Regions from separate parts of the Homo sapiens genome. Here regions 1 and 2 are each linked to region 3. Evidence: promoter capture Hi-C in 16 types of primary human blood cells and fetal thymus (Javierre and others, 2016). All regions are on one chromosome and are shown on one strand. The core of a region is centred on a gene start or on the middle of the fragment in contact, and the rest is flanking DNA. Distances in the headings are between cores, read along the strand shown. Region 1 overlaps SART3 (spliceosome associated factor 3, U4/U6 recycling protein). Region 2 overlaps SART3 (spliceosome associated factor 3, U4/U6 recycling protein). Region 3 holds the start of UNG (uracil DNA glycosylase).

Region 1 (3,496 bases), core at 150-2,649, 540 kb after region 3:
TGGATGTTTTAATCAAATGCTATTTCTTCATTGAGGTAATCATGTTTTTTTCCCTCAAATCTGATGGTGGAAAAATTATACTGGATGATTTTGTAGTGTAAAAACACCCTTGCATTCCTGGGATAGACCCAAATTGATCATTATGTATTGTTCTCTTTATACATTTCTGATTTTTTAATATTTTATTTAGGATTTTTGTATTAATGCTCTTGAGTGAGATTGACATGTAATTTATTGAATTCTGTGTGCCAGGTAGGTAAAGAATCTAACCAAGTCAAGGATAAGACATACAAGGTACTTATCCCATGAAGCCTTTAGGTCATGATGGAAATAAACACGATGATGAGATGGAAAACAGCTTGCAGCATATAGGGGGCTACTTAAGAAAGAGTGGCATAGGAGGGGGGCCGGGGGCGCCCTCTGAGGAAGTGAAGTTTATACCTGAAGTATGAAAAGGGGTGGCTAGGCAGAGAGAAGGTGAGAGATCCTTCTGGGCTGAAGGAGCAGCAGGTGCCTAGCCCTGAGGTTGGAGAGACGTTGGAATGTTTGAGTTACACGAAGCTGGCTGCCATGTTGAGAGGCCGGTGGTTTGAGATGTAGCTGGAGAGATGAGCCCAGCATGCTGGGATTGCACATGAGGCAGGGATTTGCAAATTGTTCCTAGGATACTGGGAAGCCATGGAAGGGTTTTACTATTATAATTAGTAGAGAAAGATAATGAGTTCTTGTTTAAAATCTAAACACTTGAACAAAACCCCGTAATCCTTCATATTTGTATTCTCTGAATGGTTGGTCCTTGTCCCCACTCCATTTAAAGGTTCACTGGCTACTTCATTGTTAAGATTTTTATCCTAAAGTTCAAGTAATCATATTCATTGGCTGTCTTTCTGTATTTTAATTAAATATCTAGTACCTGGATTATTAGGGTATGTTGTCAGATGGTAGAGTGTAATTTGAATGAAGTGTAGGTAATCTTTTATCTCTGGAGAGGGAAATATTCCTAAAATGTGGCAGATGTTGGAAGAGTAGATACTAATGAAGTCTTGGTGTACAGACTTAAATTATCCCTATATCCCAACAAAAGCTTTTTAAACAATTCGCCTTTTTATTTTGAGATAATTGTAGATTTCCATGCACTTGTAAGAAATAATAGAGATTTTTCGTGTACTTTTTACCCAGTTTCCCTCAATGATAACACTTTGAGGAACTATAATATGTAATAACCTGGGTATTGACATTGATATAGTCAAGATACAGATCAGTTCTGTCACCTTAAGGATCCTTGATGTTGCCTTGAAATTTTTCTCTTGTCCTAACATTTTGTGATGTTATATTTACATTTCACATTTAAGTGTGATCCATTTTGAGTTATTTCTGTAAGGCGTGAAGTTTAGGTCAAGGTGTATTTATTTGTTTTGCCTGTGGATATCCATTTGCTCCAGCATCATTTTTTGAAAATGCCTTTTTTTTTCCTCTGTTGCATTGCGTTTGTCAAAAATTATTTGGGCATATTTGTGTGGGTCTGTTACTGGGTTCTATTCTCTTCATCTATGTATCTTTCTGCCATTCTCACACTGCCTTGATGATTGTAGCTGTATTGTAGGTTTTAGTATCAATCAGGTAGAGTGATTACTCCCACTTTATTCTTTTTCAAGATCATTTTTAGCTATTCTAGGGCCTCTGCCATCCCATATACATTTTAGAATAAGCTTGTCTAGGTCTACAAAAAACCTTGTTGGGATTTTAATTGGAGTTTCAGTAAGCCTGTAAGTCAGTTTAGGGAGAATTTACTTCTTGACTATGTTGAGTTTTTCAATCCATGAACATGAAGTGTCTCTTTTTTTAGGTCTTTGATTTCTTTCCTCAGCATTTTGTAATTTTCAGCATACAGATTTTGTAAACTTTTTAAATATACACCTAATTATTTAGGTTTTTTGGAGTGATTGTAAATGGTGCTATGTCTTTAAATTTGGTTTCCACATGTTCTTTTGTTTTTTTTTTTGTTTTTGTATGTTTATCTTATATTCTGTGACCTTGCTCAGTTCACTATTTTTGGAGTTTTTTTTTTTTTTAATTGGTTCCTTAAGATTGTCTACTTAGCCATATCATCTACAAATCAGGACAGTTTTATTTTTCCGAGCTGTATAGCTTTTATTTCTTTTCCTTGTCTTATTGAACAGGCTAGAACTTATAGGACTTTGTTGGAAAAGAGTGGTGAGAGCAGACATCCTTGCCTTGTTCTTGATTTTAGGAGGAAAGTGTTCAATCTTTTACCATTAGGAATGATGTTAAGGTAACCCTATATCCCAACTTATGGGATAGATTTTTTATAGATGCTCTTTATCAGGTTGAGGTTGTTTCCCTCTATTCCTAACATGCTGAGTGTTTTAACCATGAATCGTTGTTGGATTTTGTCACATGCATTTTCTGCATCTATTGATACCATGAGTTTTCTTTAGCCTTTTGATACACTGGATTACAGTAATTGATTTTTAAATGTTGAATTAGCCTTGCAAACCTGGAATAAATACCACTTGGTCATGGTGTATAATTCTTCTTATACACTGAATTTAGTTCTTTAAATTTTCCTCCGTACTGTTTTAGTAGCATCCTACTTATTTTGATTTGTTGCAATTTCATTTTCATTCACTTTTTTTAATTTGTAAATTTTCTTGGAGACTTCCTCTTTGACCTGCAGATTATTTAGAAGTGTATTACTTAATTTTCACGTGTTCAGAGATTTTCTTACTGTTAGTGGTTTCTAATTTGATTCCATTGTGGTCACAAAACATACTCTGCATGGTTTTCATTTCTCTTAAATTGTTGAGGTTTGTTTTATGGCCAAGGATATGGCTTCAGTGAATGTTCCGTAAGTACTTGAGAAAAATACATATTCTGTATTGTTGGGTGGGCTGTTCTCTATATAAATTAGGTCATGTTCGTTGACGGCGTTATTGAGTTCTTCTATAACCCTGTTCTGCCTAGTTTAAAAAAAAATTAAACAATTTCCTTTCTTTTTAAAAACTTAAAAATTTTTTAATTTGCTTTTGTCTAATTTTCTTTTTCTTTTATTCATCTTCTTTTTGACCAGGTTCAACATATTCAAGTGTCTAGTAGTTTTATCAGTTGCTGAAAAGGGAGATGTTGAAGTTGCCAAATGTAATTGCTGCTGTGTCTCTTTGAGCTCTGTAATAGTTTTTGCTTCATGAATTTTCAAGCGCTCTTTGGTTCCTACACATTTAGGATTGTTATGTCTTCCTGGTAGATTGATCTATTTATTATTATGTGTCATTATATAATCCTTTTTATCTCTAGTAATTTTCTTTGCTCTGAAGTGTACGTTATGTGATATTAATATGTCCGCTTCAACTTTTTAATTAATGCTTGCATGTTATCTTTTTCTCTCCTTTTCCTTTCAACCAGTTTACCTGTGTCTTTGAATTTGAAATGAATTTCTTGTACTCACCATATAGTTGGGTTGTGTTTTTATCCACTC
Region 2 (3,562 bases), core at 429-2,928, 560 kb after region 3:
TTTGTTGTTGTTGAGGAAACCAGGTCACAAGAGATGTTTATAAGGACATTTCTTTCATCACTTGGTCGTGCTGGCAATGTCTTGTTGATGGTGAATGCTTAATAAAGTGTAATTTCCTAACTCTGGAATTCTTTATCATAGGATCGACAACTGAAAGTAAAGGATTTGGTTTTATCTGTACATAACCGCGCTATTAGAAACTGCCCCTGGACAGTTGCCTTATGGAGTCGGTACCTCTTGGCCATGGAGAGACATGGAGTTGATCATCAAGTAATTTCTGGTGCGGATGTTTTTGTGGGAGAACTTCTAAGCTATTTGTCCCAAGTGAAAAACAGAGAGCGGTGACAAAGTCATTACATCAGTGTTCCCTGGGGTTTTCTTTGGGTTATGGAGTGTAGTGACAAAAAGGGCTCTGAGTGAGAGATGAACTGGTTATATTTGTGGCTTCTTAGAGCTTTTTAACATGCTAATATTCATTGTATTTTCTAAGAAGTTGTAGTGTTTTCTCCAAACTTCCTTGATCTGGAACTTTTCTTGCAGGGCGTCTTGTGGAAGAAGTTTTTTCTAGAACACAGTCTGTAGAGTGCTGTAGCAACTTCTGTCTTCAACATTCCTGTCTAGCTCATTTCATTCTGTTGCATCTATTAGTCTTTAAAGTCATGTAGTGTTTTATAGTCAGTAGAATGTAGTGACTTTCTATTAGTTTCCATTTGAATTGGTAACAAATCCTGACTTTTCTCCAACTCCAGTAACCTTCGAGAAAGCTTTGAATGCCGGCTTCATCCAGGCCACTGATTATGTGGAGATTTGGCAGGCATACCTTGATTACCTGAGGAGAAGGGTTGATTTCAAACAAGGTATTTAAGCACATGTTTTTCACTTTAGAGCTGAACATGTTCTTAATACAACTTTTGGCGAGATGTCCCAGTTCCCCAGATACATTGTGATTGGGCAAATGATGTAGACTAGGTATTGGTGACTTTTTCCCCCAGAAATCTTAGCAATTTCTGTCTTTAACAAGTCATGATGTGGATTGTAAAGCAAGAGAGTAATCGTTTATACTGGCTCCTGCCAGCCTTTTTAGTCTTAGCTCTCATTTCTCCTTTCAGGTCTTTTTATTTATCCTAAATACTTCTTGAAATAAGTCTGCTGTGTTTTAGAAAAATCTTTGTACCTCTGTGGGATCCTTTGCCCCTTCATGTCCCCCCGAAAACAACCAGAAAACCCCTAACTTGTACTTGCACACTCATGTCAGCTGTCACCTCATACAGGTAGCCTTTAGCCATTCTCTTGTTTGCCTGTGTCACCCCAGCTGGGGGAGACTCCCCCCCACAGCACCCTGTGTTTGCCTTTTTCACCACGCTGTCCATGCTCTATTCTGTTCAAATTTCTTTCTCCCCAACTATGTGATGAGGGCAGGAATTGGCAATTTTATTTCTGTGTCCCTTGCATGATGCCAGGTACATAGTGGGTCTCCAGGCAGTTTCAGCATAGGATAAAAAATAAAACAAAGCCAGGCTATGTGGTTTCCTAAAGCCTTTTTTTGCACTTTCCGTTAGACTCCAGTAAAGAGCTGGAGGAGTTGAGGGCCGCCTTTACTCGTGCCTTGGAGTATCTGAAGCAGGAGGTGGAAGAGCGTAAGTATGCCCCAGCCTGTGGTTTTGCCCAGTTGTATTTCCTTGTCTGTACTATTTCCTGGTTGATGTACCTTTTCAGCCAGCGACTATCTGTCTCCAAGTTCCTTTCTAATTTTACTAATTCTGTTTTTGAAGGTTTCAATGAGAGTGGTGATCCAAGCTGCGTGATTATGCAGAACTGGGCTAGGATTGAGGTAAATGTTTTTGACACATCTAGCACTTTCATCCATCATTGTTTAATAGCATCCTATTAAACTTTAATTAAAATTGAGTCAGAATCCCAGATAATGGCCTAAGCTCTATAAGGATTTATGTTATTACCTAGGTAATGGTCTAGGCTCCACAAGGATTCATGTTATTTACCTAGCTTGACATATATTTGTAAATATGTTGGTGAAAATATTAGCTCCCAGCTAGAAGTTGTGCAGTAAATGTTTAGATGCTAGGTATTCACTCGTTTACTTCTGTCTCTGCCTCTTTGCTTCATTTGTGAGAGCACAGTGAGCGTGTACTGTTTGTCAGCACTGTACTAGGTGCTGTGGGAATAAGACAGATAAAATTCCTTTGCTAGTAAGGCTTCTATCTAATGTAGAAGACAGATGATTTGACAAGTAATTAGAGGATATGATGACTTGAATGTCATTACTGGGTCAGGGACACCAAGGTCAGTAAGACACGGAACCTCCCTTGATCAGCAGGTAGGATTGTAACAATTCTAATCATGTTTTCTCCTCGGAGGGAGCGTCAGATAGAAGAAACTAACATTTGTCAGGTAGTTTTTATATGGGATGCTTATCTTTTAACCATTTTAAAGATGAGAAAACTGAGAATTACAGGTTAAGTAATTTGCCCAAGTCACAGTTTGTAAGTATTAGTAGCAGAGTGTGCATTTAATACTAGATCAGTCTTTTTTTTTTTTTTAACATTGTCTCTCAAACACTTGTAGTTAAGCTTGATAAAAATAAAAAACGTGACTATCTAGTACTGTCGAGTAAGTACCGTGCGCTCCCTCTCTCGGTTCTCAGGAAACATAGGTAGATTAGCTTGTGGCTGCAGAAAGGCTCAAGTGTTTGGGCTGGGTCGTTTACCACTGGAGGGAGGCCTGGGGAATGCCCAGGGACATCTGTAACACTAATAGTTGTGGGGTGCTTTTTATGTGTGTCTGTTGGAAGTGTGTTGTATGATGGGTGTCGACGTCATAAGGTTCAGGTCTCCTAACAGCCTGCTGATGCACTTTAGGCTCGACTGTGCAATAACATGCAGAAAGCTCGGGAACTCTGGGATAGCATCATGACCAGAGGAAATGCCAAGTACGCCAACATGTGGCTAGAGTATTACAACCTGGAAAGGTAACTGATCTCGGGGTGGGGAGGGAGGCAGTGCTTGTCAGCTGTGCACCTGTCTTCACTCCTGGCTGACTCCTACCAGCTTGGACTAGCTCCTTAGAACTGGGCTGTTTTCTTTCATTCTGTCTCTTTCAGTAGTGGGTACATTTTTAATGGGCAGGGCTAGAGAACCAGACATGATATTTTGTGCCTGGAACTCTTATAGCCATGCATTTCTTTTAATTTGTTTTTGTCTTGATTTTTGGGCATGATATTTTATTTGACCTTTTGGAGCTATTTGTTTTTTATATTTGCTTTTATAGAAAAGTAGAAAATACTAAAAAGCTAAGAGAAAAAAAACTCAAATTACTGACCCAGTCATAACCATGACCCATTCTTTGAGACTTTTCTATGTTTAAATTTTTTTGTAATGAAAATGCAATTATAGCATGCATGTGTTACAAGCCTTTAAAACTATTTGAACGAAATAAGATAGGCCTAACAATATTTATAACATGGGGAAAACATAAAGAATGTGACCAACTTTTCAGTCTGTCTTGAACGTTGTTCATTGCATAACATTGCTACATTGCTGGGTTT
Region 3 (3,545 bases), core at 705-3,204:
CCGCGGGAGGTTAGTTTCAGGATTTAAAAAAAATACAAGAAATAAGAGCACAGGATGTACATAGTTTTCCTTTTTGCCACATAAATACCACGTGGTAAACATTAAAAAGAGTAAATACAGGCTGAAATACAGTCAGCCAAACCTCGGGATTTCAGTGTTTTATTTACTACTGAATGATGGACTGTGGCTTAACTCCAGTGTCCCTAATTTAAAAATACTATTTGACTCCTTCTCCCCAATAAAAATTATCAACAAGTTGTACTTACATCTTTTATGTCACACATCTGGGTCCAGGTGAAGACTTGGTGTGGGGGTGGATAAACAGTGTAATGCTTTCTTTCTTCTGCAACAAATCCCATTAGCTGATTTAAAGATAAACTAGACTTAAAATCAGATTCTCATTGGAAACCATAAGAATTCAATAAGAAAGCTTCTAGTGCAAGTTATTTGGAACATCATTAGTTCTTTGTCATGTTATGTCCAAATTCTTTTAAAAAACAACAAACAAAAACAGTGCCTGCCCCCCCACCTAAGTGGTTCAATCAGGTCAATTCCTTGCCTCTTTCTCTGGGCTGGGTCCTGACAGTGCCACTCCTCTCGGCTTTTTAAAGCTCAAGCCAGGTTTCATTCAGGATGGTTGGTGATTTTACTACGCCAGCCTTTCCTGGACAATAGACTATGTGACTTAAATGAATCCATGATATCATCTCGCGGGTCGTTAACAACTTTAACCAATATAAAGCTGCAGAGTGAAACATCATGGCTTTCTTTTACCCCCTTTGTGAGTAAAGGAGGTTGAAGGGGGTACAACCTAAGCCTACGGAAACATGAACTTGGCCGGCTACACTAACAAGACAAAAGGGCCGGCAGCCTCCACATTTACCCTTATGGAAGGTGCATTTCCATATTTACCTTGATAAAATACGGTTTCCCGAACTCCCCGCTGAGGTGCTTCTTCCAGCTCTCTCCAAAGCCCACGGGCACGTTGCGGGCCGCGAGTCTGAGCAGGGCCGCGGCCTTGTTCCTCTGGATCCGGTCCAACTGCTCGGCACTCAGCGGCGAGGAGGGCGGCGTCCCAGGCTCCTCCTGCCCAGCCGGGGCCTTCTTGGCTGGGATGGCCTGCAAGTGGTCCCCGCAGAGGCGGCTCAAGAGCTGCAGCGGCCCCTTCCCAGGCGTCCGCAGCTTCCGGCCCAACCCCCACGGCCCAAGGCAGAAGACGCCCATTTGTGGAACAGGTCCCAGCAAAAGCGGACAGTAAGAGCCCAGGGCTGGGCCCGGTCCGGGAATTGGGAATTAGGTTCTAAACTGGAGCGGGGAGACGGGCTGGGAGGCGCCCTATGGCTTCCCGAGGAGCGTCGCGGTGACTGGGAACCCTGCACAGAGGTGCCCCGCCCCCGCCAGACCCGCCCCACCGCGTCCCCACGTGGTCTTTTCGCGGCAAAAAACCTCCCTCTGGGTCCCGCCCCCTCTCCCCTCTGATTGGACAGCGCACCGAGCCAGGAGGGCCTGCGGCGCGCGGATTGGCGCCATGGGCCCCGAGACGCGTTCCCATTGGCTGGCCCTTTAGCATGGCGGCCCATGGGGGACAGCGGCGGCTATTTTGAACACGTGGAGGCTATTTGGAAAGCGGAGCCCGGGTTTACCGAGTCAGAGGCGCGATCCTGCACGCCCTCCGTCAGGCGGGGCCCACCGCCTTCCTCCCCCTTCACCCCCTAGCCCCGGCCCAAGCCGCGCCTCACCGCCGCATCTCCGCTTTCCTCAGGCACCCCAGCCACGCCGGTCCCCTGGACGGCCGGCTCGGGGCTGGGGGCGTGTCGCTTCCTGGCGGGGCTGGGGGAGAAAAAGGAGTAGAGCGTCTTCTGGCCGATCATCCTGGAGCTGAGGAGGCAGCGAACGCGCGCCACCCGGGAACCGGCGAGGCTAGCCCTGGCTGTGGCTGTGGCGGTCAGCAATTGGCGCCAAGCGGCCCGCGCATGCTCCGAGCGGGGGGCTTTGCTGGGGGCGGGGGGCGGTGGAAGGCCCAGTGCGCATGTGCGGGAGGGGCTGGAGTGCAACGCCCCTGGGAGGAGGTGGGGCGTGCAACGGTGCCCGGGGGCCTATTCTTTCATTCGCTTTGTGCCTTCAGCCCACCTCTGCTCTTTGGACAGGCTCTTAAGGCTCAGCTGCAAGAAGAGAAGACTGGTCAGGCGCGGTGGCCCACGCCTGTAATCCTAGCGCTTTGGGAGGCCCAGGCTGGAGGATCGCTTGAGGCCAGAGGGTCTGAGCTGTAGTGAGCTTTGATCGCGCCAATGCACTCCAGGCCTGGGCGACAGAGCGAGACCCTGTCTCTCGGTGGGGTCGGGGGGAGGGGGCTGGGAAGAAAAGTTCCTGCCCCTTAGGGGTGTTGTGGGAGTGCAATGAACAATATAATAATATTGTCCGGGCTTGATGGCTCACGTCTGTAATCCCCGCACTGTAATCCGAGGCATCTCAAAAACAAACAAACAAACAAATACTATTATATTTTGTGTGTGTATTTTGTTTTTGAGACAGAGTCTTGCTCTGTCGCCCAGGCTGGAATGCAGTGGTGTGATCTCAGCCCACTGCAACCTCCGCCTCCCGGATTCAAGCGATTCTCGTGCCTCAGCTAGGATTATAGGCGCGCGCCACCACGCCTGGCTAATTTTTCTATTTTTAGTAGAAATGGGGTTTCACCATGTTTGCCCAAGTGTGTTTTGTATTTTTTTAGTAGAGATGGGGGATCTCACCATGTTGGCCAGTCTGGTCTCGAACTCCTGACCTCAGGCGATCTGCCCACCTTGGCCTCCCAAAGTGCTGGGATTACAGGCATGAGCCACCACACCCAGCCAATATTATTTGTTGAACTGTTATATACATTTTCTCACGCAATTTTCATGGCCTATTTTATGACGATAAACTAAGGCTTAGTGCAGTCAAACATTTTGCCTAATGTATCAGGCTTGTGGGAGACTTTCGGGTCATAGAGGTTAAACACCAACGATTTGTCTTCCAAATGACACCACTGTACCGAACCTCCTCCCACCACTACTAATACACTTAGGATTCTCTTTCCCTCCCTCACATCCAAACCATCCATATCTGCTTTTGGTTCTTTCTCCAAAGCAAACCTCAAATTCAACTGCTGCTCTTGCATCTCCTAGCTACAGAAGACCAGCTGGGAAGCTGGTGTTCTCTTTTCTAGAGAGAGATTTTTACATCATGACAATACCTGGGGCCTGGCCCAGCTCGGTGGCTCACGCCTGTAATCCCAACACTTTGGGAGGCCAAGGAGGGGCGTATCGCTTGAGCACAGGAGTTCGAGACCAGCCTGGCAAACATGGTGAAACCCCGTCTCTACTAAAAATACAAAAATTAGCCAGGCGTGGTGGCATGCATTTGCAATCCCAGCTACTCAGGAGGCTGAGGCAGGAGAATCACTTGAACCCGGGAGGCGGAGGTTGCAGTGAGCTGAGATTGTGCCACTGCACTCCAGCCTGGGTGACAGAGCAAGACCCTGTCTACAAACAAAAAAAAGAAAAAGAAAA

Evidence for each region. The method cuts DNA at HindIII sites, captures the fragments that hold promoters and counts their contacts. A CHiCAGO score of 5 or more calls a contact.
Region 1: a contact is called between a fragment that was not itself captured here and the fragment with the promoter of UNG in region 3, in 16 of 17 cell types (total CD8 T cells, erythroblasts, naive CD8 T cells and 13 more). The highest score is 13.4, in total CD8 T cells.
Region 2: a contact is called between a fragment that was not itself captured here and the fragment with the promoter of UNG in region 3, in 11 of 17 cell types (naive CD8 T cells, total CD8 T cells, megakaryocytes and 8 more). The highest score is 8.2, in naive CD8 T cells.

Annotation. Positions count from the first base shown.
Region 1 is chr12:108,551,049-108,554,544 of GRCh38, reverse strand. The region is part of intron 1 of SART3 (spliceosome associated factor 3, U4/U6 recycling protein); the gene reads left to right. Among named protein-coding and RNA genes, the nearest start is that of SART3, 8.4 kb to the left of the region's middle. The HindIII fragment of the contact is 625 bases long and covers 1,087-1,711 here.
Region 2 is chr12:108,534,783-108,538,344 of GRCh38, reverse strand. It overlaps SART3 (spliceosome associated factor 3, U4/U6 recycling protein), which reads left to right. Exons shown (of 19, transcript NM_014706.4): 8 at 142-280; 9 at 750-857; 10 at 1,560-1,637; 11 at 1,773-1,831; 12 at 2,877-2,986. Among named protein-coding and RNA genes, the nearest start is that of FICD, 21 kb to the right of the region's middle. The HindIII fragment of the contact is 1,824 bases long and covers 767-2,590 here.
Region 3 is chr12:109,096,006-109,099,550 of GRCh38, reverse strand. UNG (uracil DNA glycosylase) reads right to left here and starts at 1,954. Exons shown (of 7, transcript NM_080911.3): 1 at 1,740-1,954; 2 at 913-1,119; 3 at 267-362. The coding sequence starts at 1,871. RefSeq lists a silencer at 1,386-1,775. The HindIII fragment of the contact is 3,702 bases long and covers 433-3,545 here.